Regions from separate parts of the Homo sapiens genome. Here region 2 is linked to region 1. Evidence: promoter capture Hi-C in 16 types of primary human blood cells and fetal thymus (Javierre and others, 2016). All regions are on one chromosome and are shown on one strand. The core of a region is centred on a gene start or on the middle of the fragment in contact, and the rest is flanking DNA. Distances in the headings are between cores, read along the strand shown.

Region 1 (3,191 bases), core at 13-2,512:
TGAATTAGTGGAGGATTGAATGGACAAATGAATGAAGTTTCTCTCCGAAGCCCCACATCTGAACTTGCTGATGGATTTTCTTTCTGCTCCGTTGTCTGGTGTCCACTTCAGTTATTTATTCACCCATTTATTGAGTCTTTAGTGTGCAGTGGGTAATGTTCAATAGAAAGAGTCATGTCTACTCCAGTCCTGCACCTTCCCATTCTGTTACTACAAAGGTGCAATTTACCTCACTGCAGTCAAACCATTTCTTGTGTTAAGTAGCAAATAGAGGTTTACACTGTGAAACCAGGCAAGTCTTGGACTTGGGAATGAGGTTCTTGGAACAGAATCCCAATGCATGGCTAACAGTGAGAGTCTGCAGGTGACAAAGGAACCGGGCTCCATTCTGCTGATGGCTGGGGAAGGGGAGGAGAAGCTGCTGACCTTTGCTGAAGGACTAGGATGAACTACTCATCCCATTTTACAGCAGGCAACCTATTTTCAGAACATTGAGGTGAGAGTCTAATCTCTATCAAAGTCTTCCTTTCTTACCAAATGCTATAGGAAGTCTCTTTATTTCTTTTAGCCTCAGTCTCAGAGTCATAGTGCTCATTAATGTGACCATGTATGGTAAAGGTAAAATGTAATAAGATGTTAATTTGATTATTATTAATATCATGCTGAAGTACTTGGGGTTGATGTATCATTATTTCTGCAATCTACTTTCAAATGGTGTGTGGTGGGGGAAGGATACAGACAGAAATAAAGCAATTGTGGCAAAATGTGGCAATTGGTAAATCTAGGTTAAGAGTGTACAGATATTCCTGGTACTGTTCCATCAGCATTTCTAAGGATTTGACTTTTTTCAAAATAGAAACTAAGTTGAGAAAAAACTAAATAAGAAAAAATAAAATGTGATGGCTGTGCCTCTCCTCAACTCCACTGTATGAACACAAGCAAGGTCCTTACTGTCTCTAAGCCTCTTCGTTGAGAGTAAAAAACTGGGGAAATTAAGCCTTGCCTTTTATACTCCCTCAGTGTTTTGTGAACACCAGTCATGGTCACAGATGTAAAGTGTTTTGCAAACCATCCAGGACTGTCAGGGCATAAGGGGTTAACGGATGTGATCATTTGTACAGCACCAAGCGATGTGTAGATCACCGGGCCAAACCCTTGGCTGTCTAGACTCCAGCCAATCTGTGTGCCTCAGCCACCTTAACATTACATATGCATGACTGGCCTCCTGGATTCTTCCCTGCTCAGAGCACCAGCTGCAAGCACACAGTCTTCTTCCTGAGAACTAGCGGGCAGAGCAAACTCCGCTGCTTCCATTCAGAAACCTCGGAACAGACCTTTGCCTGCCAACTTCCTAGCTCTCTGGCCAGCTTCTGATTGTTAGCAGTGGGTTAGCTCCCATGAAAACCTCGAAGGCATCCCAGCGCTATAGAGGCATCCGGAGAAATGCCAGCCAGTGCTACCTCTACCAGGAATCTCTGCTGCTCAGGTGAGCTGGCCCCATTCATCAGCTGGGCAGAGGAGTCAGGTGTGTGAGGAAGGAATGCATGGGTCACCAGAGCGAGGGACAAAGTCCCTGTCCTGCTCAGTTGTCCTTCAGAATGAACTCAGAAACTCACTTCTCCAGGTTGTGGTACAACTAGGATGGCAACCTCAGCAACGGGCATGGGGGGAAATGGTTCTTCTGGCTGCTTCTTGACCAGGAGGTCAGAATCCAAAAGCTTGCATCCCAACCTGGCTTTATGGCTGGCCAAACCCACAGATATGTTTCCCTGTTTTCTCTATGTTCACTCAATCAGCAATGTCAAGAGAGAGCAGATAATATGTCTATCATGATAAATAAAGTGTTTATTGGAAAAGCCTTCAGGCTAGTTAGAAGTGGATGAGAGTGCTATTCGAATTTGTTAAATATTTATAAAGGTCTAGTACAGCTGCCATTTAATTTGGTGAAATTGAAAAAAATTCTCCTCTAAATGAGTAAAAACAACATGAATTAGAGAATAACAAACGAAATCTTTTATTTCTAATAGTCATAGATGAATACTCTTAACTCCTCTCAAAATGTTGCATTAGGATAAGCATATTAAGTGTAACTGGGAGTAAATGTTGCTACATGTTGGAAAATTGTTCCTCTTGAGAGTATCTATTTCCTGAAATATCTCACCCATGTAAATTTGCTTAGCTAATCTTTCGCTCGTAGAAATTGCTTTGCCTGGCTCTGCCTCGGTTATCTCAGGCTTAAAATGAATTGACGTGAAAGGGTGAAGAGGGGTTTCTGAGTGGCAGAAGTTTTGATTTATGTTACCTTCAAGTAACATAAGGAGTCCTGCCTCTAAAATTAGCTGATTATTTCAATGAGCCTGAAAAAGAAATTATTTTGCCTACCCAAATTGCTGCTACTCAGGAATCCAAGAGTACGTAAATACCCTCTTGTCTCATCTTGTGTTTTCTGATAATATCATGCACCCTGAGAAATCATTATCTTCTAATGACCCAGTGGAAGTAATTGAATCCAATAAATGTGTTTCAACAGGCTACTGACACTGGCAAATTATCTGTTTCTGTGGGTCCCTCACTTTACACACACACACACACACACACACACACGCACAAACACATACACATTTCATACAGATGACCCTAGGGCAGTGAGATGCTGAACTTGTGCCCAGGGCAAGATGATCTTTGCTGGAAGCAATTCTTCTAATCAGATTTCCTCCTTAATGCCCTGATCATTCAGCAACTTGGATGACAGCTTTAGTGCTGATGAAACAGGGGACAGCAATGATCCGGAACAAATCTTCCAGAATATACAGTTCCAGAAAGATCTCATGGCAAACATTCGCTGCAGACCCTGGACTATGGGACAGAAGCTGAGGGCATTGAGGTAAGGGCCTCAATGGCCATTATTGATCATTACAAGCATGCTTTCCGATAAACCACCTTGCCTTGCCCATGGGAACGAGGATAAAGACTCATGTGAGAGAGATGGCTCAGTCACTCTTGACCTGAATTAGCAAAGTCACAAAGATATCTGAGAGGTCTAGCTGGTCCAGAAGCCAGTTCCTCTGTGTGTGTGTGTGTGTGTGTGTGTGTGTGTGTGTGTGTGTGTGTGTGTGTGTGTGTGTCAGAGAGACAGATACAGAGAAAGAGAGAGTATAAAGAGTTGTGTGTCTGTGTTGGGGGTGTGTGTG
Region 2 (3,147 bases), core at 150-2,649, 220 kb after region 1:
GACAGGATCTTGCTCTGTTGCCCAAGGTGGAGTTCAGTGTCATTACCATAGCTCACTGTAACCTCTAACTTCTGGGCACAAGTGATCCTCCCACCTCAGCCTCCCAAGTAGCTAGGACTACAGGCATGTGCCGCCACACCTGGCTAATTTTTTTTAATTTTTTGTAAAGATGGGTTCTATGTTGCACAGACTGATTTCAAATTCCCAAAGTACTAGGAGTACAGGCATGAGCTACACCGGGGCCTACACAGTTGCTCTTAAAAACAAAGCTATTTTCTTTTGAAACAGCTACAGACAAATAAGGAGACGTTGAGTGTATTTACTAATGGAAAAAACAGTGTCTCTATTATTTTTTGCCTTTGAAGGGATATTGGGGAAAAAAATCTGCCAAAACCCATTAATCAGACTTCAGCTTTGTTCTCCTCAGGTTTAAGCCTTTGGGGGCTTTCACCAACTGTAATTTCAGACTCACAAATGACCTCCTTCAATTACCTCATACCCCTCACTCCCAGACTAACCTTCCTTTCCTGTCCTATCTCTCCCTTGCTCAAAAATATGTGGTGGCTCCCAAATGCTCCATATATTAATATAGACTGCCACACTCTGACCCCTCTACCTCCTTCAATGTCTCATCTCCCTTCTGACCCTCTCTGCAGTGGAAGCCTTAAAGGTAGGAACACATTTACTCCCCACTGGATCCCCAGTGTCTACCTCAAGACCTGGTATAAAATAGTCAATGATGTCTGCTGGATCTGGTTGAATGCAAAAATGTCTACTGTATATGGGAAAGGAGTCGAGTCCTCCTCCAGGTATGGAACCAAATGTGATAAAGATGAACTCACTTACTGACTGGGATGTACACATATTAAATTCATAGGAAGGTGGAGGGGGAGCAACAGAGGCCCTTTCACACGTGGGCACCTGCTTTTGCGTAGCTAACATATCCAGTCCTCTCAGAAGCCCTCAAAGGTGAAGTTCTTGGAGCTAGGACATGGAGAACCCTAGCCACTGGGCTCGTTGGTTTCTTCCTTGCTCCCGCTGGCAGGATGCTAAAGGTGCTCTTCAATCCCAAAGTTGTATTTGCTATCAGTTACCCAAGACTTAGGTGAGTGTGATAGAGACAAACAGCCTAGCAGATGACAGCACTGTAGGTGGGTTGCAGCTATATCCACACCAAAACAACCTCCACTCAGGGACCAGACATTCCCAGATGACTGCTTGTCACCTTTCCTGTGCACCTGTTTTTCCTACTGGGTTTGAATCTCAGGGAGAGGCATGTGCCCCAAATCTGAGTGTCCACCTTCTCCTTCTCTCCTGGCCTTATACCCACCAAGCTATAGAGTCCTGTCTCTCTCTTCCTGGCCTCTCTCTAACCCATGCCCTTTTCCCAGTGCTTCCTGACACTGCCTTAGTTCAAAGCCGCATCAGTTCCTCCTCCCGTGCCTCCATAATCATCTTTTTAAAGTAAAATCATGACACTTTCCTCCTCAAAGCCTTTCACAGGCTGACCATCACCTTCAAGATCAAATTCAAGTTCGATAATTGATACATGAAGCCAAGAGTGATATTCAAAATAGTTAACCACCTCTATAGTTTTTCTTGAGTATCACTGGATATTAGCCAAATAAAACAAACTCCAGGCACCATGGTGGGGTAGGGTCTTGCAGGCCCCACCATTGGGCTGAACATTAACCCTTTAGTTGCTGGTTGTAGGGAAATCCAAGGGTCTCCAGGGAGGTGCCAGGGTTACAGGGGGCACTTTAGGGGCTTGAGTCAGTAGCTATTTTCCAACCAGGTTGGAGACATTATCGTATTTTAACAGCCAGTATAGCCATGCTGAGTGTACCAGCACACAGCCCATTTTGAATGTCTCTTGCCAGTCCCCACTTCTCCCCAGGAGAGGTGTTGGCCCTTTGCAAACGCAGTCTCCTTTGCCTGGAATGCTCTTCCCATGTGTGTCCTTTCCAGCTCAAGTGTCATCTGAAGGCAGGCTTCCCTGGACTCCAGGTATAAGTAATGCGGTCCTTCTACTGGGATTTCAGCATGGCCTGTGCGTAATCACACAGATGGTCTCCTCTTCCCTCTCTCTTGCATTTGCAGAGTCCTTACCTTGTTCCTTACTGTCAAACAATTCATAAACATTTGTTCAATTGAAAGAAAGTGAACCTTAGAGCTGGGAGGAGCCCATTGTCCATGACTCAGGACAAAGCTGTGCAGGCATCGTTGCAGCAAGTGACTCAGTGGCATTTTCTGTATAATGAATGACTGCACACAGCACGCAGGATGCTCTCCACAATTTGTGATTGTGCACCCTTCCCAATAAGCAATCCTTTTGGGTATTTGCTACACACATACATTTATATGTAATTCTATTAATAAATTTTACTCATGCCCATTAAGCTAAAATGTCATGTACATTTAAAAACATTTTGTCTCAAAAAAAGAAAAAAAACTAATATTTTGTCAATTTTACACAATGAAGTGTAAAAATAAAAAGATAAACTTTTTTAAAGGTAAAAAATAAAAACTATTTTGGATCGTATAAAGCACACACACATTAATGCACTTTAAAGGATAAAATAATGATATACGCAGAGTTCTAAACTCTTCTTTTCACATCTCAATGAGCATCTCTGTGCCCCACACTGGAGGTCGCTGCAGAGGTGCTGTGTGCCAAAGTCACTGTACACAGGTCCATACAGCGGCTGCATCCTGGAGAGCCAGTCTCCCCCTGCCAATATTCTAAGTTTCCATCAAAGTCCAGCTCAGATGCTAAAAGCAGATTATTAATATATCTGGAAGTCATGTTAGAGACCACATATTCTAATCTCTATAGGACACAAAAAAAGGAAAGAAAGAAAAGGAAGGAGAGAGAGAGAGAGAGAGAGATAAATACCCATTTTACAGCATCCTTTATAAATGGCAAATAAAAAACAGCTAGAAGTAGGTCTAGACTATTGGTCCTTAAATAGCAGACCCCTCCCAGGGACATTTAGCAATGTTTAGAGACGCTTTGTGTTGTCATGAGTGGAGGGGTGCTACTTCATCTAGTGAGCAGAGGCCAGGGATGCTGGCAAACATCTTATAATGCACAGGAAAGCAACCACAACAAAGAATTAGAAAAAAAATTAGATTAGAAGGCCCTTG

The links. The method cuts DNA at HindIII sites, captures the fragments that hold promoters and counts their contacts. A CHiCAGO score of 5 or more calls a contact.
Region 2: a contact is called between a fragment that was not itself captured here and the fragment with the promoter of TMC3 in region 1, in 1 of 17 cell types (total B cells). The highest score is 5.9, in total B cells.

What each region holds. Positions count from the first base shown.
Region 1 is chr15:81,372,284-81,375,474 of GRCh38, reverse strand. It overlaps TMC3 (transmembrane channel like 3), which reads left to right and starts at 1,262. Exons shown (of 22, transcript NM_001080532.3): 1 at 1,262-1,486; 2 at 2,738-2,884. The coding sequence starts at 1,398. All of the region lies in intron 5 of TMC3-AS1 (TMC3 antisense RNA 1), which reads right to left. The HindIII fragment of the contact is 5,020 bases long and covers 1-1,720 here.
Region 2 is chr15:81,152,051-81,155,197 of GRCh38, reverse strand. No RefSeq gene overlaps it. Among named protein-coding and RNA genes, the nearest start is that of CFAP161, 19 kb to the right of the region's middle. The HindIII fragment of the contact is 5,994 bases long and covers 1-3,147 here.